Regions from separate parts of the Homo sapiens genome. Here regions 1, 2, 3, 4 and 5 are each linked to region 6. The links are contacts of gene promoters, found by promoter capture Hi-C in blood cells and fetal thymus (Javierre and others, 2016). All regions are on one chromosome and are shown on one strand. Each heading gives the region's core, a stretch centred on a gene start or on the middle of the fragment in contact. The rest is flanking DNA. Distances are from core to core; before and after follow the strand shown. Region 1 overlaps EP400 (E1A binding protein p400). Region 2 overlaps EP400 (E1A binding protein p400). Region 3 overlaps EP400 (E1A binding protein p400). Region 4 overlaps EP400 (E1A binding protein p400). Region 5 has its middle 15 kb from the start of ULK1. Region 6 holds the start of RAN (RAN, member RAS oncogene family).

Evidence for each region. Contacts are between HindIII fragments. The CHiCAGO score rates a contact against its expected background, and 5 or more counts as called.
Region 1: a fragment that was not itself captured here is called in contact with the fragment with the promoter of RAN in region 6 in 2 of 17 cell types (total B cells and naive B cells); the score reaches 9.3 in total B cells.
Region 2: a fragment that was not itself captured here is called in contact with the fragment with the promoter of RAN in region 6 in 2 of 17 cell types (total B cells and naive B cells); the score reaches 6.2 in total B cells.
Region 3: a contact is called between a fragment that was not itself captured here and the fragment with the promoter of RAN in region 6, in 1 of 17 cell types (total B cells). The highest score is 5.2, in total B cells.
Region 4: a fragment that was not itself captured here is called in contact with the fragment with the promoter of RAN in region 6 in 3 of 17 cell types (endothelial precursors, naive B cells and erythroblasts); the score reaches 5.4 in endothelial precursors.
Region 5: a fragment that was not itself captured here is called in contact with the fragment with the promoter of RAN in region 6 in 1 of 17 cell types (total B cells); the score reaches 5.8 in total B cells.

The regions. Positions count from the first base shown.
Region 1 is chr12:132,073,931-132,078,137 of GRCh38, forward strand. It overlaps EP400 (E1A binding protein p400), which reads left to right. Exons shown (of 53, transcript NM_015409.5): 52 at 2,586-2,663; 53 at 3,471-4,207. The coding sequence ends at 3,743. Among named protein-coding and RNA genes, the nearest start is that of SNORA49, 45 kb to the left of the region's middle. The HindIII fragment of the contact is 1,529 bases long and covers 827-2,355 here.
Region 2 is chr12:132,052,701-132,057,329 of GRCh38, forward strand. It overlaps EP400 (E1A binding protein p400), which reads left to right. Exons shown (of 53, transcript NM_015409.5): 42 at 446-524; 43 at 643-897; 44 at 2,274-2,319; 45 at 2,399-2,508. Among named protein-coding and RNA genes, the nearest start is that of SNORA49, 24 kb to the left of the region's middle. The HindIII fragment of the contact is 6,897 bases long and covers 1-4,629 here.
Region 3 is chr12:132,020,059-132,024,541 of GRCh38, forward strand. It overlaps EP400 (E1A binding protein p400), which reads left to right. Exons shown (of 53, transcript NM_015409.5): 22 at 1-160; 23 at 1,021-1,263; 24 at 3,719-3,883. Among named protein-coding and RNA genes, the nearest start is that of SNORA49, 8.9 kb to the right of the region's middle. RefSeq lists an enhancer at 3,837-4,483. The HindIII fragment of the contact is 2,299 bases long and covers 369-2,667 here.
Region 4 is chr12:132,002,345-132,006,650 of GRCh38, forward strand. EP400 (E1A binding protein p400) reads left to right here. Exons shown (of 53, transcript NM_015409.5): 13 at 2,733-2,840; 14 at 3,768-3,958. Among named protein-coding and RNA genes, the nearest start is that of SNORA49, 27 kb to the right of the region's middle. RefSeq lists an enhancer at 3,450-4,306. The HindIII fragment of the contact is 1,876 bases long and covers 2,094-3,969 here.
Region 5 is chr12:131,877,802-131,882,178 of GRCh38, forward strand. No RefSeq gene overlaps it. Among named protein-coding and RNA genes, the nearest start is that of ULK1, 15 kb to the right of the region's middle. The HindIII fragment of the contact is 8,001 bases long and covers 1-4,377 here.
Region 6 is chr12:130,869,883-130,874,456 of GRCh38, forward strand. RAN (RAN, member RAS oncogene family) reads left to right here and starts at 2,184. Exons shown (of 7, transcript NM_006325.5): 1 at 2,184-2,244; 2 at 2,702-2,747; 3 at 2,954-3,038; 4 at 3,121-3,246. The coding sequence starts at 2,712. RefSeq lists enhancers at 1,224-1,985, 1,409-1,488, 1,986-2,747, 3,976-4,045 and silencers at 1,769-2,228, 2,299-2,438, 2,489-2,698. The HindIII fragment of the contact is 6,850 bases long and covers 1,117-4,574 here.

The sequences.
Region 1 (4,207 bases), core at 341-2,840, 1.2 Mb after region 6:
TTTTTTTTTTTTTTTTGAGACGGAGGCTCACTCTCCCATGCTGGAGTGCAGTGGCATGATCTTGGCTCACTGCAACTTCTGTCTCCCACATTCAAGAGATTCTCCCGCCTCAGCCTCCCGAGTAGCTGGGACTACAGGCACACACCACCATGCCCAGCTAATTTTTATATTTTTAGTAGAGGTGGGGTTTCACCATGTTGGCCAGACTGGTCTCGAACACCTGACCTCAGGTGATCCACCTGCCTCGGCCTCCCAAAGTGCTGGGATTACAGGCATGAGCCACCGCGCCCGGTCGGCATTGTTTTCTGAGTGCATTCACGGTATCATTTCCTCACTGTGGCTGCTTTTGTTGTTGAAGAGGAGCCGGTGTCTGTCCAGCGTTTCTCTCTTCCAGGGTCACCTGTCTCTTCCCCACCGACTGCCTGTTATTGAGACGTTGTCTTTGTCTTTGTTGTTTTGGGTCACCTCTCTCCCCCACCGTCTGCCTGTTACTGAGACGTTGTCTTTGTCTTTGTTGTTCTGGGTCACCTCTCTCCCCCACTGTCTGCCTGTTATCGAGACGTTGTCTTTGTCTTTGTTGTTTTGCAGTTTCATTCCAATGCTCCAGCTTCTTGAATCTCGGGCAGTCTCTCTCATGTCTTTAGGAAATAAGCAGCCACTGTTTGTTTACGTGTTGCCCCTGTCCTGCTTCCTCTGCCCTCCAGGTCTCTCAGCAGCTTTTGTATTTTCTGTGTCTTTGTCTCGTCGTACTATATTCTGAGTCATGTCTTTCGCTCTGTCTCCTCAGTCACTCATTTTTCCCTTGGTTAAGTCAAATCTGCTTCAAAGCTTGTCTGTTGAATTTTTATCTTGATGATTTATTATTTTATTTTCAGAAGTTCCCAAATAATGCCTGGTCTTTGTTTATAGTCTCTTGTTTCCAGGCCTCGCAGAGTGAGTGAGGTGTTTTTCTGGATCTGGTGATTTCCCTGTCTGAAATGTGCTGCATCTGCGGGGACCCCTCGCAGCCTGGGGCAAAGGTGGAGTTTTGCTTCCGCGGGCACCTTCAGGTGCCACAGGAACACTGCTTGGTGTGTGGCTCAGGCTTTCACTCAGCTCTCAGGTGTTACCCACCTGGCCTCTGAATCTGTGTCTCCTCCTCTCTCCTCCCCGGCACTGAGGCTTAGGGCAGGTGCTTTTCTTACAGATGCCACTGGAGGAAGGGGATGCTTTCTTTGCAGCCTTTGGGTACCTTTGTGGGTACAGTGTCTCCCTCCAGGATGGCAGCTGGCAGTAGCACGGGGCTCTTTTGCAAGCTCCCCACCGAGAACTGGCCTATACCTGGTGTCTGGTCAGCTGTGTCCTGTGCGACCCTGGAGATCACGGGGTGCGTCTCCATGTGGCCAGCGATCCCGGGCAGAGGTTGTGCAGCTTTTCTGCTCCGTGACTCGTGATGCCCGCCTGTGCTTAGGTTTGGAGACTGGCAGTTCCTGACTCTTTGCAGGTTTCTTGGTACATTTAAGATTTCTTGCTAGTGCTTTATTTAAGACGTCTCAGGATTTTCAGTGCTGTGCCAAGTAAGTCCTGGACCATTGTGGTCTTGAGATGGGCCCTGGAGCACCGGCTGCATCTTTGTTTCCCAGCAGTTCCACAGGGGGCGCTCAGGGCACTTATCTTAGTGAATTTTATTTATAATTGTTTAAGTGACAGTAAACTAGTAAATGCCTTCTGATTGATTTTAATTTTAGTAAGGACTAACATTTATTTCGACCTTTGTTCATGTGTGAGTAAATCATGTAATTTCACATATTTCGCAGAATAATCTTGGGAAATATTATTTTCATCCGTTTTCTGTAAGTAACAGGACCCAGCAAGAGACCAGGGTCCGTGAGGGCCTTGTGCAGGGAGGGCCCTTGAAATCAGGGCCCCCAGCAGCTGCCCACGCTGGAGCCTCTCTTGTGTTCTGGGTGCACGCCATGACGGTGCTGATAGGACACACAGGTGGCCCAGAGCCTCTTACTACGTCAAGACAGCGGGAGATGCATGCAGTAGCAAGTGCACAGAAAGTGGGCACTGGGTGGAAAGTGTTGCTTTATAAATAGCCAGATCTCAATCATGACTAAGAAGAATGTAGAAAAATGATAAAATTACCAGCCTCAAAACCTTGGTGCGTCACCGGGTTCCCCACTTCAGCTGGCTGCCCTAGCTGCACTGTACAGCTCATTACTGGAACGTCGTCCAGGCCTGTCATATGCAGAGCCCTTGGGACTCACAAGACGCTCAAATACTTACCATCCTCAGTCTGATTCTTTCATATAAACTTGCAGTCGTTTTTGTGAAAAGAAAAAATGTGTCTGAAATATGAGACCAAAAATAAGCTTAAATGATGAGTGATGGCAAATTGGGGAGGCAGTCAGTTGACTCACCATGCAGTGGAACGACTTGCTCTCTCACTGCTGCAGGTGGGCACACTACGAGAATTGCTCTTCTGTGTCACCTGGTCATTGTGTTTTTTGCATTAACTGAGGACAGAAAGGGAGGAAAAATCTCTTTTTGTGCACATACTCCTTTGAATTGTATGTTTGGCTTTTTTTGTTTTGTCAAAGGTTGCAAAACTTCCTCAAGTTGTTCAACAGCAAACACCCGTGGCCAGCATCCAGCAAGTTGCCTCTGCTTCCCAGCAGGTAGGACGCATAGACAAAGTGGAAACCTCACATTTCCCAGGTCAGAGAATGGGTTGTTTTCATCTGAGGTCATGATTAGGGAATCACTTTTGATTTTTGTGATACACACAAAAACATTAACTTCAGGGGAAAAACTAGATACACTTAATAATGAGAAGAGTGAACAAGCGTTTAGAGGTTGTGTCAGCCATACTGAGGGAGCCTCACCTTGGGCTCATTCCCAGGACCCTTCATTCACTGATCATCGCGGGTGTGTCCTGCAAGTCGCAGACACTGCCCTGTGGTTTTAGGGAGGCACAGGCCTCAGGCAAGCAGGCTCCGCTCGGGGCCCGCCCTTGAGCAGAGGCGCTGTGGGCACAGTGGCCTTGCCTCCCACAGAAGCCCTTCAGGCGCTTTCACTGTTGTCACTGATGCTCCACAATATGACTCTTTAGCACAGTGCTTTAAATGTAAAGCGGTGCTTTAAACTTTCTAAATTTTGTTTAAAGTCACACTGGCATATAGATTTCAAGAAACCAAACTCTATTAAAAGCTTTACTACAACAACAAAATCAGTCCCTGACCCAGCTCTCACCCTTTTCCCAAGAGGCATCTGGTGTTAGTCTAAAAGCAACCATCTTTTAATTTTCCACTTGTGTTTAATTGGAAACCAGAGGTCATACTGTTGTGTGACTGGTCATTCTTCCGTGTCATAAAAGCATAGTCAGTGAAGTTTCTCGAGTCCTCCCCATCCCAAAGAACGTCCATTTTCCTGTCCCTGGACTGAGTTTCCTGGGCAATGTGTGTTTTCTGACTCTCTCGGCTCAGGCTTCTCCACAGACTGTGGCGCTCACGCAGGCGACGGCGGCCGGGCAGCAGGTGCAGATGATCCCTGCAGTGACCGCGACTGCCCAGGTGGTTCAGCAGAAACTCATTCAGCAGCAGGTGGTGACCACGGCGTCGGCCCCGCTCCAGACTCCAGGCGCTCCCAACCCAGCCCAGGTGCCCGCCAGCTCCGACAGCCCAAGCCAGCAGCCCAAGTTACAGATGAGGGTCCCTGCTGTCAGGCTAAAGACACCTACTAAGCCTCCGTGCCAGTAGTCAGGGCAGCAGGGCTGCCTCTCATCTAAAGCAAAACTACCTTCCTCACAGAAAACGCTTTATTAGTGAACCTTGGGACCATGTCACGCAAGAGATTCAGCACTGGGAAAGATATAATTGAAACAAAATAGTGTAATCATTTTATTAAAATGCATCCCACACTGCAGGACAAATGGTCCTTATGGAGTGCCGCGTTCTCTGTACTACGTGGCTCATGGAAAAAGTGACAACATGGCTTCCTCTAAATCATTTCACCTTTCAGTCCCCACCCGCACCCGTCCCCTAGAGCCATAGTACTGTGTTCTGAAAGCCATTTAGAATTTCTTTGTGAGCATGTAGTGCTTTGCACGCCACAGAAGCCGTCTGCCGTGTGTGAGGAGCATACAATGGACTTTCTAAAGATAAGGCGTGGGCTTCCACAGTGTCTGCCAGAGTTTAGTTCTTTATACCTTACTGAAAAATGC
Region 2 (4,629 bases), core at 12-2,511, 1.2 Mb after region 6:
GACCGCGGGCCTGCGCGGCGTGGAGCCTGGGCATTCTCGGGGGAGCGAGAGAGGCACAGTCCCGCCCTCCCTTTACCTCCCTGGAGAGGAACTCGAGGGCATCCTCACAGAAGGAACAGACAGAGATTTTCCCAAGTACAGTGCAGACACATGAGGTGGGCTGTGCGTTTGGGGGCTGCCACAAGTACGCTGGGGACGTGTTCGGAGATACTTTTCCTGGAGAGTGGGAGAGCTCGGCCTCAAGGAAGAGGACTCAGCGCCAGGCTGAGGATGAGGTCTAGGTGGCTCGATCTCCTGCAGGGCACATTGGGCACCTTGCTTTACGCCCTCATCTCTTGGGCTGGAGCTGCCCCAGCACCTGGCAGCATGGTGTTTCTAGGGTACGTGGTACTTGTCTGTCTTAAAACTTGCCTGTATGTTTTTAACCTTTGCGTCTGTCTTTCAGTGGAATCAACTATGACAAGCCGCTGCCTCCCATCCAGGTGGCATCTCTCCGTGCAGAGCGAATCGCAAAAGAGAAAAAGGTCAGCGCCCTGGGCCCTTCTGCTTGAGTGGGAAAATGTGGTGACTGTGACTTCATCCAGGGGGTATGCAGGCCGAGTCTGCCCCTCCAGTGGCTCCTCTTCCTTCCTGGCCCCTCAGGCTCTGGCTGATCAGCAGAAGGCACAGCAGCCGGCCGTGGCCCAGCCACCCCCGCCCCAGCCGCAGCCCCCACCACCCCCGCAGCAGCCACCGCCACCGCTGCCACAACCACAGGCAGCGGGCAGCCAGCCGCCAGCAGGGCCACCAGCTGTCCAGCCCCAACCCCAGCCACAGCCCCAGACCCAGCCACAGCCTGTGCAGGCCCCAGCGAAGGCGCAGCCCGCAATCACGACGGGGGGCAGTGCAGCCGTACTGGTGAGCAGGGGCCTCCTCCCGGGCTTCCCCTCTACGGGAAGTCACCCACACCTGCACTTGATTCAAGTGCTTTCTGTTGAAACGAAGACTTGTTGCCAGTTCTAGCACATTTCCAGCTTGTAGACCTTCCTCTGAAGAAATGGGAAAAGGCTTAGTCTCATCCCAGAGGAATTGTGTGTTTTCACCTGGATTCTGCCATTTCTCTCCTCCAGGGCTTTTGTGGGCTTAGTGGCTTTATTGGATTTGGCAGGTAGAGGCAGCTCCTTTTAGTGGAGGTGGTTGGGAAGTTTGTAATTGCCTGGGTTTTGTAAAACATACCTGTGACGCATTCACTTCCTGACTTCCTACACACTTAGAGAGCAGGTACTGCCTGTGTCGGTGTCTCAAAGCATGCCCATGTGTGCTCCCCCACACAGGTCAGTCTTTAATGCCTGTTGTAGAAAAGCTGTAAAGCACACAAGAAGCATTGTGAAAAGAAAGGCAGGGTGCGGAGCTGCGGACTGTGGCCATGCACACCACGCTCTGGTGTATCTCTGTACTGTGTGCGTCCGTGTGCCACACAGACGCTGAAATCATATGCGCAGAATCACACCTGCAGAGAATAGGAGCTGTGCCAAATTGGGGAAACCCACACTTTGGACTACCAGGCAGGCATAAAAATATTTTTGTTACATAGAACCATTTCCTGCAGTAGTTTTTAGAAAATTGTTTGCTGTAGTGGAATTTTTATATGTACTCAGGCAACTTCATTCCTCATTTATTCAAAAGGGATCTTTGTGAATACTTACTTGGTGCAAGGTGGGCAAGATGGGCAGTGCCCACATTCTGGAGCCACGTCCTACAGGGGAGGGAGGCAGCCAAAGGGATCATTTTAAATGCTGGCGGGAGGAGTCAGGGTGGCACAATGCAGGACTGGCTTGTTAGGAAACACCTTTCTGAGGACTTGGCATTTGAGCTAAGGCCTGAATGACAAGGAGTTGGTCATAAGAAGAACAAAACAGCAAGTACAGAGGCCCTGAGCTTGGCTGATATGGGGGCCAGAAAGCTCAGTGTGGCTGGACTCAGGTGGTGAGGGACAGAGGGTGGATGAATGGAGTGGAGGGACGGAGGAGTGGAGGGACAGTGGGGTGAGGGTGGAGGGACAGTGGGATGGAGGGTCCCTGGGGTGGAGGGACAATGGGATAGGGGTGGAGGGACAGCAGGTAGACAGAGGGTGGGGGCACCGCCAGGTGGAATGAGCTGGGGAGGATGGGACAGGTGGCTGTGTGAATGTCGTGGAGTTTGGATTTGATTCTGAATGAAGTGGAAGCCTTTGGAGGATTTATGCAGGGGAGAGCCTGACGTGAAATTCAAATGGATTTTTTTTTTTTAAATAGGCAGGAACCATTAAAACATCAGTTACTGGGACGAGCATGCCCACTGGTAAGACAAATACAGAGATGCTGAAATGTGGACCCCATTTCTCCTGGCGCTGTTGCCTTATGCCCGCCTGTCTCCGCAGGTGCCGTGAGTGGAAATGTGATCGTGAACACCATCGCAGGGGTCCCAGCTGCCACCTTCCAGTCCATCAACAAGCGCCTGGCGTCGCCAGTGGCTCCTGGGGCCTTGACTGTGAGTTGCGCTTCACCTGGGTTGTGCACCTTGACTGCATTCTGCCGAAATTATTTGCTTGTCTGTTAATTCTTCTTCTTCTTTTTAAGTATTCCATTGGTGAAAAACTGTCTAGTTTGAATTTCATAAAATAAGTAGCTGATCAGTATGTTGATTTCAGAAACATTCAGCTGTTTAGGGGATGGTTTCCATTCTGTATGAGGGATGAAAATGAGGTGGGGTATGTGTGTGTGTGTGTGGTGTAGGGGTGTGTGTGTGTGTGTGTGAGGTGTAGGGGTGTGTGTGAGGTGTAGGTGTGTGTGTGTGAGGTGTAGGGGTGTGTGTGAGGTGTAGGGGTTGTGTGTGTGAGGTGTAGGGGTGTGTGTGAGGTGTAGGGGTATGTGTGGTATAGGGGTGTGTGTGAGGTGTAGGGGTTGTGTGTGTGAGGTGTAGGGGTGTGTGTGAGGTGTAGGGGTATGTGTGTGAGGTGTAGGGGGGCGTGTGTGAAGTGTAGGGGTGTGTGTGTGTGTGAAGTGTAGGGGTGTGTGTGTGAAGTGTAGGAGGGTATGTGTGTGTGTGTGTGTGAACTGTCCCCTCCCTGTAGGATGATTTTAGATAGGAGGTAGGCGGGATGTGAGGGTCCGCTGCTGATTCTATTGCCGCAGGTGCCCCCCATGTGCTTGTCACTGTGCCCATGTGGGGAAGCTAAGAGATGACAGCCCTCTTGGGGGCGTGGTTTTGGGGGAGGGGACACGGCATCACACGAGGGCATGGCTGGGTGTGTGCAAGGAGCAGGTGGGCATGGGAGGAGCGGGCAGTTTCTACGGAACGTGGAGACCCCAGGTGTGGGAAGCGGTAGGTGCAGCCCACCCAGGTGGAGAGGAGGCACCTAGGCAAAGGTGCAGAGCCATGTGGTGCCCTGGGACCACCTGCTTCTCTTGGGTGTTTCATCATCAGAACCAAACACAAGTGAGAATAAGGAGCTCAGATTTGTATCTCGATTTTCCAAATAGTTCACAGACCCAGGGGCAACATACCCTGAATGAGAAGAAACGATGCTTCAAAGTCAGTGCTTTGGCAAGTAGAATGTAGTCTCTCTTGGGTTTTGAAAAGCATCTTTCCTGTGAAGATGTCGTTGCTGTAGTAGCCTAGATGATGGAGCATTGGCAGGATAGATGTGTAGATGATGGAATTGGATAGAGAGTCCAGAAATAGACCCCTCCCCAACACAACACACGCACACACACACACACACACACATTTTCAGTTGACCTCAGTAAAAGTGCCAAGGGAATTCAGTGGTGAACAGACTGTCTTGTCAGCAAACGGTGCTGTAACAGTTGGGCAGCCATGTGCAAAACAATGAGCCTTGGCCCGTAACTCACACGGAGTATGAAAGGCACTCCAGGTGGATCACAGGCCTGCATGTAAAAGCAAAAACTACACTGTAAGCCAAAACAGTAGCATTTCTAGGAGAAAATCTGTGCTACTTTGGTTTAGGCAGAGATTTCTTAGGATACCAGAAGCCTGTGAATCCTGAAGAAAAGTTAATACGTTAGGCGTCATCAAAATTAAGGACTTCTGCTCCTTGAGAAATAGTAAGAAAACGAAAAGCATAGACTGGGAGAAAATATAAAGATTCTTCAACTCAGTAGTAAGAAAACAAGCAACTGTATAAAATGGGCAGAAGATGCAGCAGTCACTTCACCAAGAAGCTAGAAGAATAACAGATAAATACCTGAAAAGGTGTGCAACGCCATGAGTCATCAGGGGAATGCAGATTTTTACAACCACAGTGATACACCACCATGTGCCTGGGAGAGTGGCTTCAGAAACAGAAGGCTGGCAGTCATGGAAGCAGCGAGGACCCTCTCACAAGGTTGTGGGAATGCAGAGTCCACAGTCGCTTCCTAAAACAGTTTCTTATAAAACCAAGCCTACTCTTACCATGCAGCTTCGCAGTTCTGCTGCTAGGTACTTCCCCAAGAGAAGTGAAAACGCCAGAACAAGAACCCTCAACACCAATGTTTATAGTGGCTTTATTCAGGATTGCTCAAAAAGAAAACAGCCTAAATGCCCTTCAGCTGGTGAATGGGCTGATAAACCATGGTACATTCATACAGCCCAGTCCTACCAAGCAAT
Region 3 (4,483 bases), core at 268-2,767, 1.1 Mb after region 6:
CCTGTGCAGTATGGCCAGAAGCCCGAGGGTCGCACCGTGGCTTTCCCCAGCACTCACCCGCCCCGGACGGCAGCCCCCACCACGGCCTCTGCTGCTCCACAGGGCCCGCTTCGAGGACGGCCGCCCATCGCCACGTTCTCTGCCAATCCGGAGGCAAAAGGTAGACTTCACGTAGTTGTCTGCTCTCCGCCTTATGGAGGTTTTTGTGGGACAAGTTCATGGCACTTTCTTCTCGCGCCTCTGGATGCGGTAATTGTCCCTGAGTGGGAACAGGCACCACCCGCTGGCTTTCTGAAGGTGCCTTGTTTAGTTCTTGATGAGTTTTAGACTTTTTGATGGCTTGTAATGGATGTTTTCCCTATTGAAGAAGCTTCACTCCTAGGTGATAAGTGTTGATCTGATGCTCACAGCCACTGGGCAGGCTGTTTCTGTTGACAGAGGTGCGTGCGTGCAGTCGTCTAGGAGACTCCTGAGAACGTCTGCTCATATTGTATTTTGTGCTGTCACTTGAACTTAATTATTCTTTTGAGGAAGGGTAGAGTAGAAAAGGCCATCAAAAGAGTTAAAAGTAGTATTTCACCACCTGGCCAAAGGGGCCCTCCACGCCATGTCCATCCAGGTTTTCTGAGCTAAAAATAAATGCTCAGACCTGCATTGTTGCCAGCATTCTCTATAGAAATATGAGTGGAAGCTCTGTTGATGTTTTCTTTGTGTGTTTAGGAAATAGTTTCTAATTGATACTAATGTTTGGTTGGGCTGACTTCTAACAGTTTCTGTTTACTCTGAGAAATGTACCGCGTAGCGTACTGTAGCTCGAAGTGAAGATAATTATCAACAAGTAAAATTATATTTCTCTCACCCTGTAAACTATATGGCCCCTCTTTTTTTCCTTAAGAGGGGACTTCTCATTTGAGAGACGGTGTGAAATGTTTATTTTATTTCTTTAAAATTCAGTTTAAAATATTGTATTTTATTAAGAACCTCTAACAGCTTTGCACAAACAAACCTTATCGATTGCAGCAGCAGCAGCCCCGTTTCAGACCTCTCAGGCTTCCGCCAGTGCTCCACGACACCAGCCCGCCTCGGCCTCCAGCACAGCCGCTAGCCCGGCCCATCCTGCGAAACTGCGGGCCCAGACCACAGCACAGGCCTCCACCCCAGGCCAGCCCCCGCCCCAGCCCCAGGCCCCCTCGCACGCGGCCGGGCAGAGCGCGCTGCCTCAGAGGCTGGTGCTCCCCTCGCAGGCCCAGGCCCGCTTGCCCAGTAAGTGGCCTCACCTTTCCAGGTTTCTGCCATCTCTCTACCCCAGAGGAGTTGTGTTAAGAACACGGGGATGTAGGAGGAGCCTTGCTGTCCACTCCTTTGTCTTTCCCCAGCCCCATGCCCGGTGCTGCCTCTCACCAGTGCAGCTGCCTCCGGCATGAGTCTAGCAGGGAGCGCCTCTGTGGAGGCCACATCCGGCCTTCTCCTGTCTGTGCTCTCTCTCCTGACCCCGCCATCCAGCTCTGCTTTTCTGCTGCACTCACTCACTGCTTTGGTGCTGTGGACGGCACTTCCCAGTGTTAGCCCCGGCCTTGTTCCACCAGCCACACAGGTGCACTCTGGGGGAGCAGATGCTCCTAGAGTGACAGCGACTGCATTTGGGAAGGTCGCTTCCTTGCCAGTCATGTGAACTAGCTTTAGGTTCCTAAAAAACATTAGCTCTTTTTAGTCTCTCGCCTGTTACCAAATTTAAACTTGGGATTGCTCAACCAAGATAACTTGTAATAATTTATGACTTAAAAAACACAGTTATTAATTTTTTTAATACAGAACATTTTGCTGTGTCCAGTGGGATTAGTATGTTTTCAAACCTTACATGTACCCTATTCATTCTGTGGTGGAAATTATCCTGACTTAAAGTATTATGTTATTTCTCAAGTGCCACCTCAACTCCTTTTGTTGTTGGTATAGCCAAATTATGTGGAGGCCTTTCTGGAAAGATGCAGATGGGAGAGGGAGTGATGCACAGAGACACTTGAGTTCAAACTAATTCTCTTTCCTTACAAGTCTCTCTCTCCCATTGCCCAAAAATAAAGAGGAATTGTCCTAGTTAAGTGCCCTAAGGGAGAAAGCAGTTGCATATTTTACATCTTCATCAAACTAGACACTGTCTTGCGTGGGATGAGAGTCATGTTGGTGGTTGCCAGAGGAGCTGTTCTTTGGGAGATCTGTGAAGTGAGCAAAACTGCTTTTCCTGTGGGTCGGTCCTCACCTGTGTATGGAACAAGGAGGATTGTTGAGAGATTGACACTTCTATGCACAAATCTCTGTCTTCTGTTTTCATTTTCCCCTCCTTGTTCACGGTTATTCTGTGGGCAAGATATCTCTAGACATTTTTCTAGCCTCTTACTAACTATTCTTTTTATCATATCACTAATAATTCTGGCATGGATTTCTCGGGAAGAACATTTAGATTCAAGTATCAACCATTGGGAAATAAGTCTTTAAACCTGTTGTTCAGTTGTAGCCGGAAGGTAGTACCTTTTTGAGTTGGGGGCAAATGACCACATCTGAGTTATGTTTTTTCAAAAAAAGTGTTTTAAGCAACGCTAAGTTTTACTTTTTTTTTTTTTAAACAGTAAATGTTATAGATTGACGCTTACCATCTAATTCAAATTAGTATGAAGCTTTATATCTTAAAGCTTTATTTATGTATGTGATTTCTTTATGTATCTAGAGGCATTGCTAGATCTTGTAGACACCGTGGCTCACACCTGTAGGCCCAGCTGCTTGGGAGGCTGAGGTGGGAGGATCGCTTGAACCCAGGAGTTTGAGGCTGCAGTGAGCTATAATCCTGCTACTGCCCTCCAGCTTGGGTGACAGCCAGACCCTGTCTCTCACAAAATAAATAAAAATACATTCTTAGATTTTGAAGAGTTATGGGTGTAATTGAAGCTAGTTATTTTTTTATATTTGTAAAGATATAATCTCTCTTTGTGAGCTAAATTGGACAGGTACTTTTCACATTTTTAAAGTTCTCTAAAGTTTAGGTTCATATGTGAGTTTCCAAGTGTATTACAAATACATTTCTGCTTTTTTTTTTTTTTTGGAGATGGAGTTTCACTCTTGTTGCCCAGACTGGGGTGCAATGGCCTGATCTTAGTTCACTGCAACCTCTGCCTCCCGGGTTCAAGCAATTCTTCTGCCTCAGCCTCGTGTGTAGCTCGGATTACAGGCGCCCACCACCATGCCCAGCTAATTTTTTTTTTTTTTTTTTTTTTTTTTTTGCATTTCTAGTAGAGATGGGTTTTCACCCTGTTGTCCAGGCTGGTCTCAAACTCCTGACCTCATGTGATCCACCCACCTCAGCCTCCCAAAGTGCTGGGATTACAGGCATGTGCCACTGCACCCAGCTGATTTCTGCTATTTTTGTTGTTTCGGTAGAAAAGTAAAATGTTCCTTAATAGCTTCGTTAATAATATCAATATCTGATATCTAAAATCCCAACCAATTATGGTTAAGTAAAGTTAACCATTAAAATCTGACATTTTGTTTTCTCTTTTTAATTAAAATAATTATTTTTAAGAAGTGGTAGAAAACACTACCTGATAAACATTTCTGTGGTGCTTCAGTTTATGATAGATGGTCATTATATACAAGAAACGACTGTCAATATGACACTCCCAAATTTTTTCCAAAATGATCTGAATTCACCTTTTCCTCTACGTTTCAACAGGTGGAGAGGTAGTGAAAATAGCTCAGCTGGCATCCATCACAGGACCACAGAGCCGCGTGGCTCAGCCAGAGACGCCGGTGACACTGCAGTTCCAGGGCAGCAAGTTCACCCTGTCACACAGCCAGCTCCGGCAGCTCACAGCGGGCCAGCCGCTGCAGCTGCAAGGTAAGGATAAGGATGAGAGAGCACTGATGCCAAAAATGACAAAAGCGCCTCACCATGAGCCCTGCTGCCCACGGGCCTGCCTTGTGCATTTAAGTGTCAGGCTTTTCCCTGTGTCCGATGATGCATCTCACCTCATGGGTTCATGGAAGACCAGCGAGATGACGTTCATCAGCCACCGGGTTGCCTGCACTTGATGCGTGTCAGATAAACAACAGGCACTTTCGTTACCAGCATCTGCGCTTTGAAGAGAGTTTCGTATTTTGTAGATCAAAGTAGAAATATTTGGCCAGGCGTGGTGGTGCTCTCCTGTGGTCCAAGCTACTCAGGAGGCTGAGGTGGGAAGATCACCTGAGCCCCAGAGGTTGAAACTGCAGTGAGCCGAGATCGTGTCACTGCACTCCAGCCTGGGTCACAGACTGAGACCCCATCTCTAAGTAATAGATAAGTAACAGAAATATTTGCTGCTTTCTAATATAGGTGTGAGACAAATTGTCCCTAAAACACCACAGGATTAGTAATTTTATGTATGAGAAATCATTTTCTTCTATCAGCAGACTTAATTTTAACTCCCAGACCCAAAGCCCAGACCTTTGGTGAAGA
Region 4 (4,306 bases), core at 1,782-4,281, 1.1 Mb after region 6:
ACAAATTATTTCATTTCCTCTTCTCTGTTAGCTTTCTGTATTCTTGTTGTAGGGGCTATCTGATTATGGTGCGCATTCTTGACTTACTAGATATCCTATTAAATTAGCGCTGTATACTCTGTGGGGCAGAGTTTGGGAGCAGCCTTGCTGGGTGGTTGTGGCACAGGTCTCCTGTGAAGATGGTTTTCAGAAGGCTTGATGTAGCAGGCTGGAGGATGCCATTCCAGGCTGGTTCATTCTGCCAGCTGATGGGCTCTGGTTGCATGCTGAGGGCAGGCTGAGTGTCCTCCTGACCTGGGGCTGGTGTCCGAGAGCAAATATCCATGAGGGAGCAGGATAGACACTGTAGTATCTTTTGTAGCTGAGTCTTGGAAGTCACCTACGGTCATTCTCACATATGGTGGTCACACCGGTCAGGCCAGGTCAGTGTGGGAGAGACCAGGAGTGAACACCAGGAGGTGGGTTCCTGGGGATCCCATTGTCTTTATGGTGTCGAGCTGAATCCATGAGCAGAGCCTCTCATTGGGTCAAGGCTTCTTCATGGTCTTCAGGAACCTCTTAGAGCTTTCTTCACAGAGATGTGGAATTTTTGAAAGTTTAATTCTAAGTATATTTAGCTCTTCATGTCCATGGGTTTCAAATCCATGAATTTGATCAACTACAGATAGAAAATATTTACCAAAAACAAAACAAAGCAAAACAGTAAAAAATAAGAACACAGCTGGGTGTGGTGGCTCACACCTGTAATCCTGGCTGCTTGGGAGACTGAGGCAGGATGGTCACTTGAGCCCAGGAGTTCAAGTTCAGCCTGGGCAACATAGCAAGACCCCATCTCTAAAAGAAATATTAAAAAAAAAAAAAACAGCCAACCAAAAAAACCCCCCAAACCAAATAAGCCAAAATAACAGTACAACAATTACAAAAAAGATACCAAAAAAATGTGTAACAACTATTTACATAGCATTCACATTGTATTAGGTATTATAAGTAACCTAGAGATTATTTAAAATATATGAGAGGATGTGTATAGGTTACGTGCAAATATACATTACTTTATATAAGGGACTTGAGCATCCTTGGATTTTGGTATCGAAAGGGGCCTTGGAACCACCTTCTCAGGGATACTGAGGGACGACTGTATTTAATTTTCTGTCTAAACAGGTTTTTTTTTCTTCGATTTCATTTTCTAACTCATTTCCATATGTGGAGGCTGATTTCTGTGTATTGTTTGTTCTGAGACACCTTACAGAATTATCTTCTTACTGGAAGTTTCCAGTGGTTTGGCTTGTTTTTCCTACTTACATATAGCATCATATGCTGTAGTGGTGCATCCCAGCATTTCGCTCTGGAAGCATCAGACAGACAGGAAAGGTGAAGAACCTTGTTAGGAACATCATGGACACACCACCTGAATTCCACAGCCAACACTTACTTTCACTGGGCTCCATTAGGTCTATGTCCATCAAGCCAGTGTGGCAAATATTTAACATCCTGAGCAAATGAATTCAAAAAGTGTTTTGCTAGTCCCAAGTGGACAGTGCCTTTAACATGGTCCTTGTAGGGTGCTTGTCCATGGCATTTGTTGTTTTGGCTCAACAGTCTTTGACATAAAATACAGATGCAAACAAGCTCACATATCACAAGTACACAGCCCAACTAAAGGGTTTTCCCCTGTTAGATCTACCACTGTGTGAACATTCTTTGAACAGAAATCTGGGTTCACATTTCTGTCATTCCTCTGGATAGACTCACTAAAAGGGGAAATGATGAGGTTGAGGGCATTGGATTCCAAAGCCCTTCAGCTTTCCGTGTTGATTTCCAGAAAAATCCAGCCAGTTTATGCCATTATCAGCAGCATGTGGGAGTATCTAATTCATAATAATTTCCCAGTGTTATGATTTTAAGGTGGTTGATAATTTGGTACTTAACAAATTGTGCACTGATTTCCAGGGATGATTAATGAAAAAACATTTTATTGCCCTTTACACTTTTATGTATGTAACAGCTTCATATCCTTTGCCCACTGTTATTGGGGATTTAATTAATGTGTGGTATTTTTTTTTAAGCAATTAGGGTGAGTGTTTTATAAAAAAAGCTTAATTATGTTTTATTATACTTTTTAACATTTTTGCTTTTTGTTTCTTCATTTGATATTTTGTATTTTTATATATCATCTTCATCAGTTATTTCCTATCAATGGTGTTCACTTTTTACATTTTTATTTATTAGTCTATACTGTTACTGTTCATTTAGATTATTTCAGATATTTTAAATCTTTTGTGAATACAATTGAGTTTCTTTCAAAGATTCTCATCTTTATAGAGAAAATATTTTATACTTTTAAAAATTTGCATAAATTTCAGGGGTGCAAGTACAGTGCTGTTTCCTGGCTGTACTGTGTAGTGGTGAAGTCTGGGTCTCTGGTATGTCATGACCCAAATGTGTGTTGCACCTACTAAGTAATTTCTCATCATTCCCCTTGCATCCCCCAACAAAATATTTTACACCTTTTATCAGTAATGGGCAACCATTTTAGTTTTTAGAAAAAACAAGTGTGCTTTTAGACAATATAATCTTTTTCCAAGGAGTGATCTAAAGCTGGAAAAAGGAATACATGTGAGAGGGAGCCCCTTGCCCTTCTTACCGTGGTTCTCCTGGCTGCTGCTCCTTCCCAATTTAAATTACAGTTGTTGTTATAAAGTAACAGCCCTTCTGCCCGCAACCCTCTGCAGCTGAGCTGCCCCTCCTGGACCTGATGAAGCTGTACGAAGGCGCCTTCCTGCCGAGTTCTCAGTGGCCCCGGCCGAAGCCTGATGGGGAGGACACAAGCGGAGAGGAAGGTGCGCTCCCAGCCTTTGGAAGAATTCAGGGTTAAAAGCAGAAGCCGGAGTACTTACAAAGACTTAAAATAAGATTTAGAAAATTTCTTTTAGTTTGATAAAATAAAAAATTAGAAATATTTAATAAGTATCTTTATATTGAATAGAATTTTATTAAATTCCGTGCTTTTAATTTATTAACCTGGCACAGTTATCGGGGCACTTGATCATGTTGTGAAGGATGTAAAAATATTTTTCTCTAGATTTATAAACATCATTGTTTTATGGACCTAGATATATTTATTCAGGCTGTGCTGTGTTTGTTCAACACACCAGTTTTGAGTAGTTTATTTTACTTGGTATTAGACTTTCTAAACAGATGCACAGAGCATACCAGAAAAGGTCTGCCTTTCCTGCTCTCATTCCAGTTGTTGGGACAGTTAGACACCTGCATGCGAGTTGGGGAGTGGCCCACAGGAGCCTTGGGGAGGTCAGGCCTTACCAGACCCCACGCTGCCAGCAGGACCAGAGGAAGGAGTGGCGGGTTTGGTCTCCTCCCGGTTTCCCACATTTGGGAAAGGGTTCTGCTTTTTTCTTTCTTGGTGATAGACGGGAGATCCCTAAACCCTGAGACACCTACATGTATCTCTCTGTGATACCAGCTCCTAATTGCTATGGAGACATTTTCCAAAATGCCAGACTATTTGGGGCAAATTATACTCTTGGAGGGCTTTCCAGAATGGTCCTTGGTTTGATAGTTTCATGAGAGTTCTCTCCCATTTATCCAGGTAGCATTGTTAGATATTTTGGATTACAAATAAAAAATTATTGCCTAATTCAGTATTTAAAGTAGTTGGATTCTATAAACTTTTTCCTGTTTTAAAAAAAGGTTTAGATTTATAAAGCCTTCTCAGTGGCCCTCACTTCTCTGTTTTATTGTCGTTACAGATGCAGATGACTGTCCAGGCGACAGGGAGAGTCGCAAGGACTTGGTTCTCATCGACTCGCTTTTCATCATGGATCAGTTCAAAGCTGCCGAGAGGATGAATATCGGGAAGCCAAACGCCAAGGACATTGCGGACGTCACTGCGGTGGCTGAAGCCATCCTGCCGAAGGGCAGTGCTCGGGTCACAACCTCGGTGAGGCGCTAAGCTTTCAAGTGTGGGATGGGCCTTTGAGAGACAGAGCACATAGCTTAGCCATGAGAAAAGCTTTTCCTCTTCCCAGTGAAATGGTCTATCCCAACTGCAGAGTTGTCAGAAAAAGCAATTCTTCATGTGCCTGTAGTCCCAGCTACTCAGGAGGGTGAGGCAAGAGGATTGCTTAAGGCCAGATGTTCAGGCGTTCAAGACCAGCTTGGGTGACCTAGCGAGACTCGATCTCCAAAAGAAGCAATTCTTCCTCTTCCTGTTTTCTGTAGATCATTTTTGTGGCTTTCTAATTGGTTTATCATGTGACTGTTGATTTCAGTTTTGAGAAAAAGTTTG
Region 5 (4,377 bases), core at 466-2,965, 1.0 Mb after region 6:
ATGTCTGCAGCACCAATCTCCATGTTCTCATTCTGTGTCCCAATGAGGGTCTACACTGGGAACTGCCTGCTGGCCTGTGGGGAATCATTCTCTTTCCTCTGTTGTCATCCTATCATCGACCTGACTGAGACACCAGAGATCTCCAAGCTCTCGGGCTGCAGTAATGGCAGCACTTCTCTCATTAGGGGTTAGTGTCTGATCTAGCAGTAACATTGCATCTCTCCATGTCAGATCAAAGGATTGTCCTAACCCTCATAAAACATCAATATAGCCATCGGGGTTATCTGAGAATTTACCTAGGTCTATTTTAATTTGCTTCAAGTCTGAGAGGGAAAAAGGCACATACACTCTGGCTGGGCCGAATTCTCCAGAATACATCTTAGGAGCGTTTTTGCCTTAGGGGAACTTTTCCTATCTGGAAAAAGAACATAGGGATGCCAGGACCCCTGGTTATTTTCTGATGAGCGTTAGTCCTAGAGTGTCCTCTATGTTCCTAATGCTTATTCCTTTCCAGGGTGCGTAACCACCCACGGACCTCTGCTTATTGGATTAGTTACACTCACCGACGTAGCAGGTCCTGCACCTGTTTTCCCACCTTTCTTGACCACAAAGAAAGAGGTCCGGGCTATTGATTCTAGTGGTCCTTTAATAGTGTGCCCGACATTGCCTTTACACCCAAGGGTGAGTTCTAGAGCTGGGCTGGGTTCCTGAGTATTTCATAATAAACCCCAGTTACCCCATCAAGATGCACTCCCATAAACAACAGTTCTTATGCAAATTCATTTCAGAGAGGGTGTGGGTAACCTTTTGAGTCAGGATTGAGATAGAGTTTTTTGATTCTGTAAGTACTTTCAGGCTTGGCTGAGTGCAAACAGCTCGCACGTTTGAGCAGACCCATTATTAGGCAATTTTCTTAACTCTACTTCTACCAGAGTTTCCCTCAATTACTGAATACCCATTGTGTTTTTTTCTCAATCACTTGGGAGGAACCATCTATTGTCCTGTCCTGAAGGGAGTTCCTCCTAGGTCTGGTCGGACCTTAGTATGGTAAATAAGATTTAAATCCCCTGTTAGGAAGTCTGCTGGGTTAAGGGAATTTTCAGTGGTTAACATTAAATTATCTTTCTCTAACAGAATAGCCCCATACTTTAAGATTTTTGAGTTAGTAAGCTACCTTTTTGCTTTTTTGACTTAGGATAGTTCTGAACTGGTGAGGTGTGCTCACAATGGGGTTTCCTCTAAAGGCTAATTTTCTGCTCTCTTCTGTTAGCAAAGCAGTTGCCACTACAGATTGAATGCATTTGGCCCCCCAGGGGTTACTGGGTTAAGGATTTTTGATAGGAAGGCTACTGGTTGTCAGTGGCCTCAGTGCTTTCGGGCTACACCCTTATTTACAATGACAACAAAGTAGTATTGGAGTGTTATAGGGTCACAGAGAAAACCTTCAGTTATCAATTATAAGTTTTAAATTTACCCTGGCTTTTAAAGAAATAGGGTACACTGTTTTTTCTTTACTACTTCTTTCTCTCTTATGTTCTCCTTTCTGTCTTTGCAGATGGATTTTTGGAAACAGTGGAAGGACGTTCGCTCGTTGCCCCCATTTGCCACTATAGGAATATGTACCTTCCTTTTATTTACTCAATTTACTTATATCCTGATCTATTATGTTGTTGTAGACCCAGTTCCAATTGTTAAAATACTGGGTTATCAGTTCTAAGGCCTTGGCAAGGGTGGTAGGAGCGGGTCCCACCTAACTGCCCATGTCAAGAGCTGTATGCCTAAATTGGGGGGAACACCAGGGACAAGACTCCCTGGGTTCATAGCCTAGGGGCCTAAGGACACAGCGTAGAGCTTCCTTAGATCCCTTTGGAGATACAACCTGCTCTAATACTTGGGAGAGGAAGTGAAAGTCTGAAGCATTAGTATCTAGGAGGCAGGGATCAGAGGAAGTAGATTCAGCAGTAAGGAGAATTTTGCGGCTACACTTTCAAGAAATTCATGCTCAGGACCCAGGAAGTATGGGTCAAAAGGAAAGGTAGGGGTGCATGTATGGACAACTGTTGAGTAGAGACTTCTGGCCACACCATAATCTCAACAGGCTAATGATGGGAGTTCAGGACGACAGCTTTCTGCCTCTAATCAGCCTTCAGCTTCCCCAGAAAGTGGAAGCTGGTTCCAGGCAGACCACGCTCCCAACCCAGAAGGGTTGGGGGTTGTTAGAAAGCCCTTTCCCAGACAGCCTCACACCTGAGTCTTAAGTCCAGTGTTTTTAACCTGCCAACTGGTGCCCGGTATTTTCCTCCAATTCTAAGGAAGGATAGGACAGAATAGCAAGCGAAAGTGGTCCAATATTACTCACCACTTTGGAGGTCCCTTCATGATCACCAAAATGTTACTGGGGGGGGTCCTTGTTCTTAGACCTCCCAAGATTGTGGCATCCACTCTCAAGATGGCAGCAAGCCTTTTGTTCTCTGACCTGGGGTTCTTGGCCTCACTGATTCCAAGGAATGGAATCTTGGGCCATGCTGTGAGTGTTATAGCTCTCTTAGAAGCCGTGGGTCATGGAAGAGAACTGTGGAACCCAGCGACTAGTGTTCAGCTTGATTAGCATGAACCTGGGCACTTAGCTGTGCAGGAATAATGGCGAGCCTTTAGCTTGATGGGGGGTGGCAATGGGCGCCTCACTGGATCAGGAGCACAGCCGACACCCTGCCGGACCTGGACAGGTGGAAGTCAGCAGCGAGTCTGCGATGGTGGCATTCAGCAGTGGTGGACGGCAAGTGAAAGCTCAGCTCGAGCCGTAACAAACACAGAACAGAAGAATGTGCAGTTGCAAGATCTAATAGAGTGAAAACAGAGCTCCCATAAAATGGGAGGGGACCCAAAGGGGGTTGCCATTGCCGGCTCGAATGCCTGGGTTTATATCCCAATCATTGTCCCTCCCTCTGTGCTCTCAGGTGTTAGATGATTGGCTATTTCTTTACCTCCTGTTTTAGCCTAATTAGCATTTTAGTGAGCTCTCTTTACTACCTGATTGGTTGGGTGTGAGCTAAGTTGCAAGCACCGTGTTTAAATGTAGATGCGGTCACCTTCCCAGCTAGGCTTAGGGATTCTTAGTCGGCCTAGGAAATCCAGCTAGTCCTTTATCTCAATATGTCTTTTTGCGTCTGTCTTCTTTCACAAGAATCATGTTTTCAAGATTCACCCACGTTGTGTGTGAAAAAAACAACAAGAAAAAACAAAAACTCTACTCCCCAAATGCTCGGGAAAACTGATTTGAGTGATAATAAAACTCTGGTCTCCCACACAGCCGGCTCTGCATGAATTACTCTTTTTTGTTGTGTTGTTGTTGTTGTTGTTGTTGTTTTTGGAGACAGTCTTGCTCTGTTGCCCAGGTTGGAGTGCAGTGGTGCGATCTCGGCTCACTGCCACCTCCGGCTCCTGGGTTCAAGTGATTCTCTTGCCTCAGCCTCCAAAGTAGCTGGGACTACAGGTGTGCACTGCCATGACCGGCTAATTTTTGTATTTTCAGTAGAGGCGGGGTTTTGCCATGTTAGTTAAGCTGGTCTTGAACTCCTGACCTCAGGTGATCCACCTGCCTTGGCCTCCCAAAGTGCTGGGATTACAGACACGAGCCACCGCACCCGTCCCAATTATTCTTTCTCGATTGCAATTCCCCTGTCTCCACGAATCAGCTTTGTTTCAGCAGTGGGCAAGGTGAACCCCTTGGGCGGTTACACTACCATTGCAGAGTGTTAAGCAGTTGCGATAGAGCCTGTGTGGCTGCAGAGCTGAAGATGTATATACTACCTGGACCTTTGCAGGAAAGGTTTACTGAAAACGTTTACTGATTTTTTTTTTTTTTTTTTTTTTTTTCTCTGTTGCCCAGGTTGGAGTGCAATGCTGCAATCTGTGCTCACTGCAACCTCCGCCTCCCAGGTTCAAAAGATTCTCCTGCCTCGGCCTCCCGAGCAGCTGGGATTACAGGTGCCCACCACCAAACCCGGCTAATTTTTGTATTTTTAGTAGAGGCAGGGTTTCACCGTGTTGGCCAGGCTGGTCTTGAACTCCTGACCTCAGATGATCTGCCCTCCTCGGCCTCTCAAAGTGCTGGGATTACAGGCGTGAGCCATTGTGCCCGGTTGTTTGCTGACTCTTGTCCTAGATTTTTTTTTTTTTCAGAGTGAGACAGGGTCTCACTTTGTCATGAAAGCTGGAGTGCAGTGCCACAGTCACAGCTCACTGCAGCCTTGACCTCCCAAGCTCAGGTGATCCTCCCACTTAGCCTCCTGAGTTGGAGTGCAGTGCCACAGTCTCAGCTCTCTGCAGCCTTGACCTCCCACGCTCAAGTGATCCTCCCACTCAGCCTCCTGAGTA
Region 6 (4,574 bases), core at 934-3,433:
TAAAAATAAGATAAAAATAAAAAAAATAGCTGGGTGTTGTGGCGCATGCCTGTAATCCCAGCTACTCAGGAGGCTGAGGCAGGAGAATCACTTGAACCTGGGAGGCGGAAGTTGCAATGAGCCGAGATCGCACCACTGCACTCCAGCCTGAGCGAGAGTGAGGCTGTCTCAAAAAAAAAAAAAAAAGGAAATAGAACATTGCAGGTAAAGTTAAAGTCTTCTTTGACTCCTCTTCTCAGTTCCATCACACTCCTTTCTACCCTTTCTTGAAGCAATAACCATCAGGATATGGTATATAGATCCTTGCAGTCAATTAAAAAAAACAACAAAATACATATATCCAATAGCCAATATGCTTTTGTTTTATGTGTATTTGTAAAAAATATACATAAATGACATTATACTATATATATAATCCCTCTAGATAAAGTTACATATAGTGTTAGGTTTTATGTATTAATTTTTGAAAACAGGGTCTTGCTCTGTCTCCCAGGCTGGAGTGCAATGGTGAGATCATTGCCCATTGCAGCCTGTAACTCCTGGGTTTAAGGGATCCTCCTACCTCGGACTCCCAAAGTGCTGGGATTACAGGTGGCCTAGACTTTATAAAGCTGTTATCACCTCTTTCTTCTTTTCTCAACACTATCCTTTTGACATCTATCTAACCCTGTTGAAACAGATGACCGTCATTCCTTTTAAATGTTATACAGTATTAAATGTTGTGCACATGCGTGAGGCATGAGTTTAACTCTGGGGCCTCTCCCTAGAAATGGAAATCCGGGGTCACAAGCAATGGGCATTCCCGTTTTACTGTTAGATTCTGCTCTCCCGCCAGCAGCGTCTGAGAGGTGCTTGGGGTTCCCCTGAGGGTTCTGGGGGAGCTCGGACTTGCGTTCCCAGCAGGCCGGTTGTCGCCTGCTTTGTGCCTAATTTGCGTCACTGGGGTTCCTAGCGGACTCGCCTGCAAGTGTGCTCAGGACTGCAGGGAGGACTCTTCGGTCACTGCGGCTCTCTCCCCATGGTGGACTCTTCTGAGGCGCTTGACTGCGCTGATTTGGGCCTTTATCTGTCTGCATGTCGGCAGGGGCGCCCAGGAAGTCGGGTCCCTCTAGCTCAAGCTTGTTTGGGCTCTTACAGCTTCAGGCCAACAGGGGGCTGGGAAGCTGAGCACTTACTCATTCCGTCCCCGTTGGTAACTAGGGCTGGTAGACGCGTCCAGACTGCAAACAGTATTTCATCATTTTGTCTGTAGCATGCAGCGGCCAAAGCTGCCAACCTATGAAACGCTTTGAGAAGCCGGACGCTTTGGGAGGCCGAGGCGGGTGGATCCCCTGAGGCCAGCCTGGGAGACATAGTTAGATTCTGTCTCTCAAAAAAATTTTTAAAAAATTACCCCTGATGTGGTGCGCGCCTGTAGTCCCAGCTACTCGGGAGGCTGAGGCGGGAGGATCGCCCGAGCCTGAGAGTTCGAGACCAGCCTGGGCAACGTAGCGAGACTCCGTCTCTTAAAAAAAATAAGTAGCCGTTTTTCTGGGTGGGTGCATCCCTCTCTGGTTCCTCGCTCTCCAACTGGCCCTGGTCCTGGGGGCGTGAAGGCTACGATCTGGAGAGACAGAACAGCGGGCTGCCTCTGGAGGACGGGCCTAGACCCCATTCATTCATTCATTCGTTCTGTCACCCACCCGTCCTGCGCGCACGCGAGCCACCCTAAGCCCCAGGACCTCAAGAACCCCCACCCCACGGGGCACAGACAAGGACAGGCTGGCCAGCGCCTGGAAGCCGCGTGCCTGACCACGTCTGCCCGAGCGAGTACCGCCTCCCACCCGGGAGGCAGGAGAGCCGCGACCGTCGGGCCGCGCCCAACGTCTCCCGCTCAGGGGCGCGCCGCCTCGCTTTCAGCGCATGCGCGCCCGGGAGCCCGCCCGGGGCGTCGGCGCACGCGGTCCCCACCGGCCGGCTTGCGTACGCGCTCCCGGCTCGCCCTCCCACGCGGTCCACCGCGCCTCCCGCCCCACCCTAAGCGCAGCGACCGCCCGAGCGGCCGACCGAACCGCGTTGCGTGCGTGCGCGCACGCGCGGGCCACGTGGGCGGGCGCCGCGCCGTTGCCCCGCCCCTTGCAACCCCGCCCCGCGCCGGCCCCGCCCCTGCTCTCGCGCCGGCGTCGGCTGCGTCTCCGGCGTTTGAATTGCGCTTCCGCCATCTTTCCAGCCTCAGTCGGACGGGCGCGGAGACGCTTCTGGAAGGTATCGCGACCCGGCGGGCCCGGCACGGCCGGGCGGGGACAGGGGTGGCGGCGGCGGGATAGGGGTCGGAGCCGGGGCCAGGGCCGGGGCGGGTGGCGGACCCAGGGGCAGCGGGCGGCTGAGTAGGTGGGTGGTGCGGGCCCGGCCGGGCCGGGGCAGGAGACGGGCGTGGGGTCGGCGCTAGCCCCCGCGAACCCCCGTTTCATCCTCCGCTCTCATCCCCGTCCCGGTCCCAGTCCCGTTCCCATCCCTACACCTCCGGCCGCCGTTCCCCGGGCCCCGCCGCCCCGGATGCCGGCCCCGCCCGCCGCCTTCCCGCTCCCAGGCCTGGCCGCCATGGCGCCGCGGGCGGGAGGCCTTTGTGGGGCGGGCACGTGGGGCGCTGGGGGCGCGGGAGCGGGGCCGCCATGGGCTGCGGGGCCGCGCGAGCGCTCGCCTCCGTCCTCTGCCTCCGCAGGAACGCCGCGATGGCTGCGCAGGGAGAGCCCCAGGTCCAGTTCAAAGTAGGTAACCCTGCGGGGCGGGAGGCGGCCGAGCCCGACCGCGTGCGACTCGCGGGTCCCTCCTCCTGGGGCCACGATGGCTGTAATGGGGCCCCGCATCCACATTCTTTGTTTTAAGTGAGCCTGTGGTGGTTAAAGTTCCGTGACTCTGGGATCTTGAGAGGTGAAGTGTTTAGGGTTTACTTCCAAAATGTGTTTTTCAACAGCTTGTATTGGTTGGTGATGGTGGTACTGGAAAAACGACCTTCGTGAAACGTCATTTGACTGGTGAATTTGAGAAGAAGTATGTAGGTATGTGCTGGAAAACCTTGCTTGTGGAAATATGTGAGAAATGGGTAAGTTCATCCACTCAATCGCATCGTTTCCGTTTCAGCCACCTTGGGTGTTGAGGTTCATCCCCTAGTGTTCCACACCAACAGAGGACCTATTAAGTTCAATGTATGGGACACAGCCGGCCAGGAGAAATTCGGTGGACTGAGAGATGGCTATTATATCCAAGGTAGGCATTTGTAACTTGCTGAACGGTTTTTGAGAGGTTTTGTGTACTTCAGTCTTCAAGGTTATAGAAAATCAGGTCTGTTCCAACAAATAGTGTCATTTTTGGGTTAAAAAAAGACAAGTGGACTTCGGGGAGTTGACCACCATTTTGGTGGCAGAGAAAATTTTATTAAAGTTGTGTCATTTGCATGCTGTGTCATGCTAGGCATGCTTTAGAAAAAACTATGACTTACACTGGGACTTATAAGTCATATTTAAAACAATAATAGGCTGTTAACAGCAGTTTCAGTATTTGGAAACTTAGGTTCATGTATGTATTTTGGTGTGGTGATCAATGAATGTTTTTACTGTATTAGAAAACAATAAACACCAGATACTAGACCAGAGGAGATAGGAGATCTTAACAAGTGTTATACAAGACTAGCTGATTTCTTGTTAAATTGTTTGTACTAAGTTGTGCAGAGTATTTTTCTCAAATAGTTTGATTTAAAAATTGCAAGGAAAATGTTCATTGTACCAAAAAGAGGAATCAAGAAAATACTCATCTCTCTTGGAACCTCACGTTGCCGATAACACATTATCTGGAATCATTCCATGCCTTTTGCTTTCCTTGAGCATGTACAAATAAACACAAGAATTTCCCCCAAAAGAATCCTTTAACCAAAAAGTTGTGGTTTCTTGCCTTGCTAACTGTACCATAGTTATTCCTGCAGGTGAATATATAGGCTTTATCTGGGTTATTTATTTATTTAATTTTTTTTTGAGACAGGGTTTCGCTCTGTTGCCCAACCTGGAGTGCAGCTTCCGCCTCCTAAGCTCAAGCCATCCTCTTACCTCAGCATCCTGAGTAGCTTGGACTATAGGCACGTGCCACTATGCCTGACTAATTTTTGTATTTTTTTGTAGAGATGGGGATTCACCATGTTGCCCATGCTGGTCTGGAACTCATGAGCTCAGGTGATCCACCCACCTCAGCCTCTCAAAGTGCTGGGATTACAGACGTGAGCCACATTGCTTGGCCTATCTGGATTTTTTAAGACAGGAATAATGTTTTCCAGTATAGCCAGCCATTTAAAGACCTTCTGAAGAATGTGTTTCCAGGCCCTACCCTCAGAATATGGCAGCTTGGTTATCCAGAATCTCATTTAGCATTAATTACTTCAGATACTTTTTTGGGATGAGGGGAGTATTAATGGTGAAGTATATCAGGGAGATTTGATAGGGTCAGCTCATCTCTCTTAGGAGGAATTGTGTATTAACATTTTTAGAATTGACAGAGACCTTGAAAGTGAGGGGAGAGATACAGGTGACTCGTTGAGGTCTAAGACT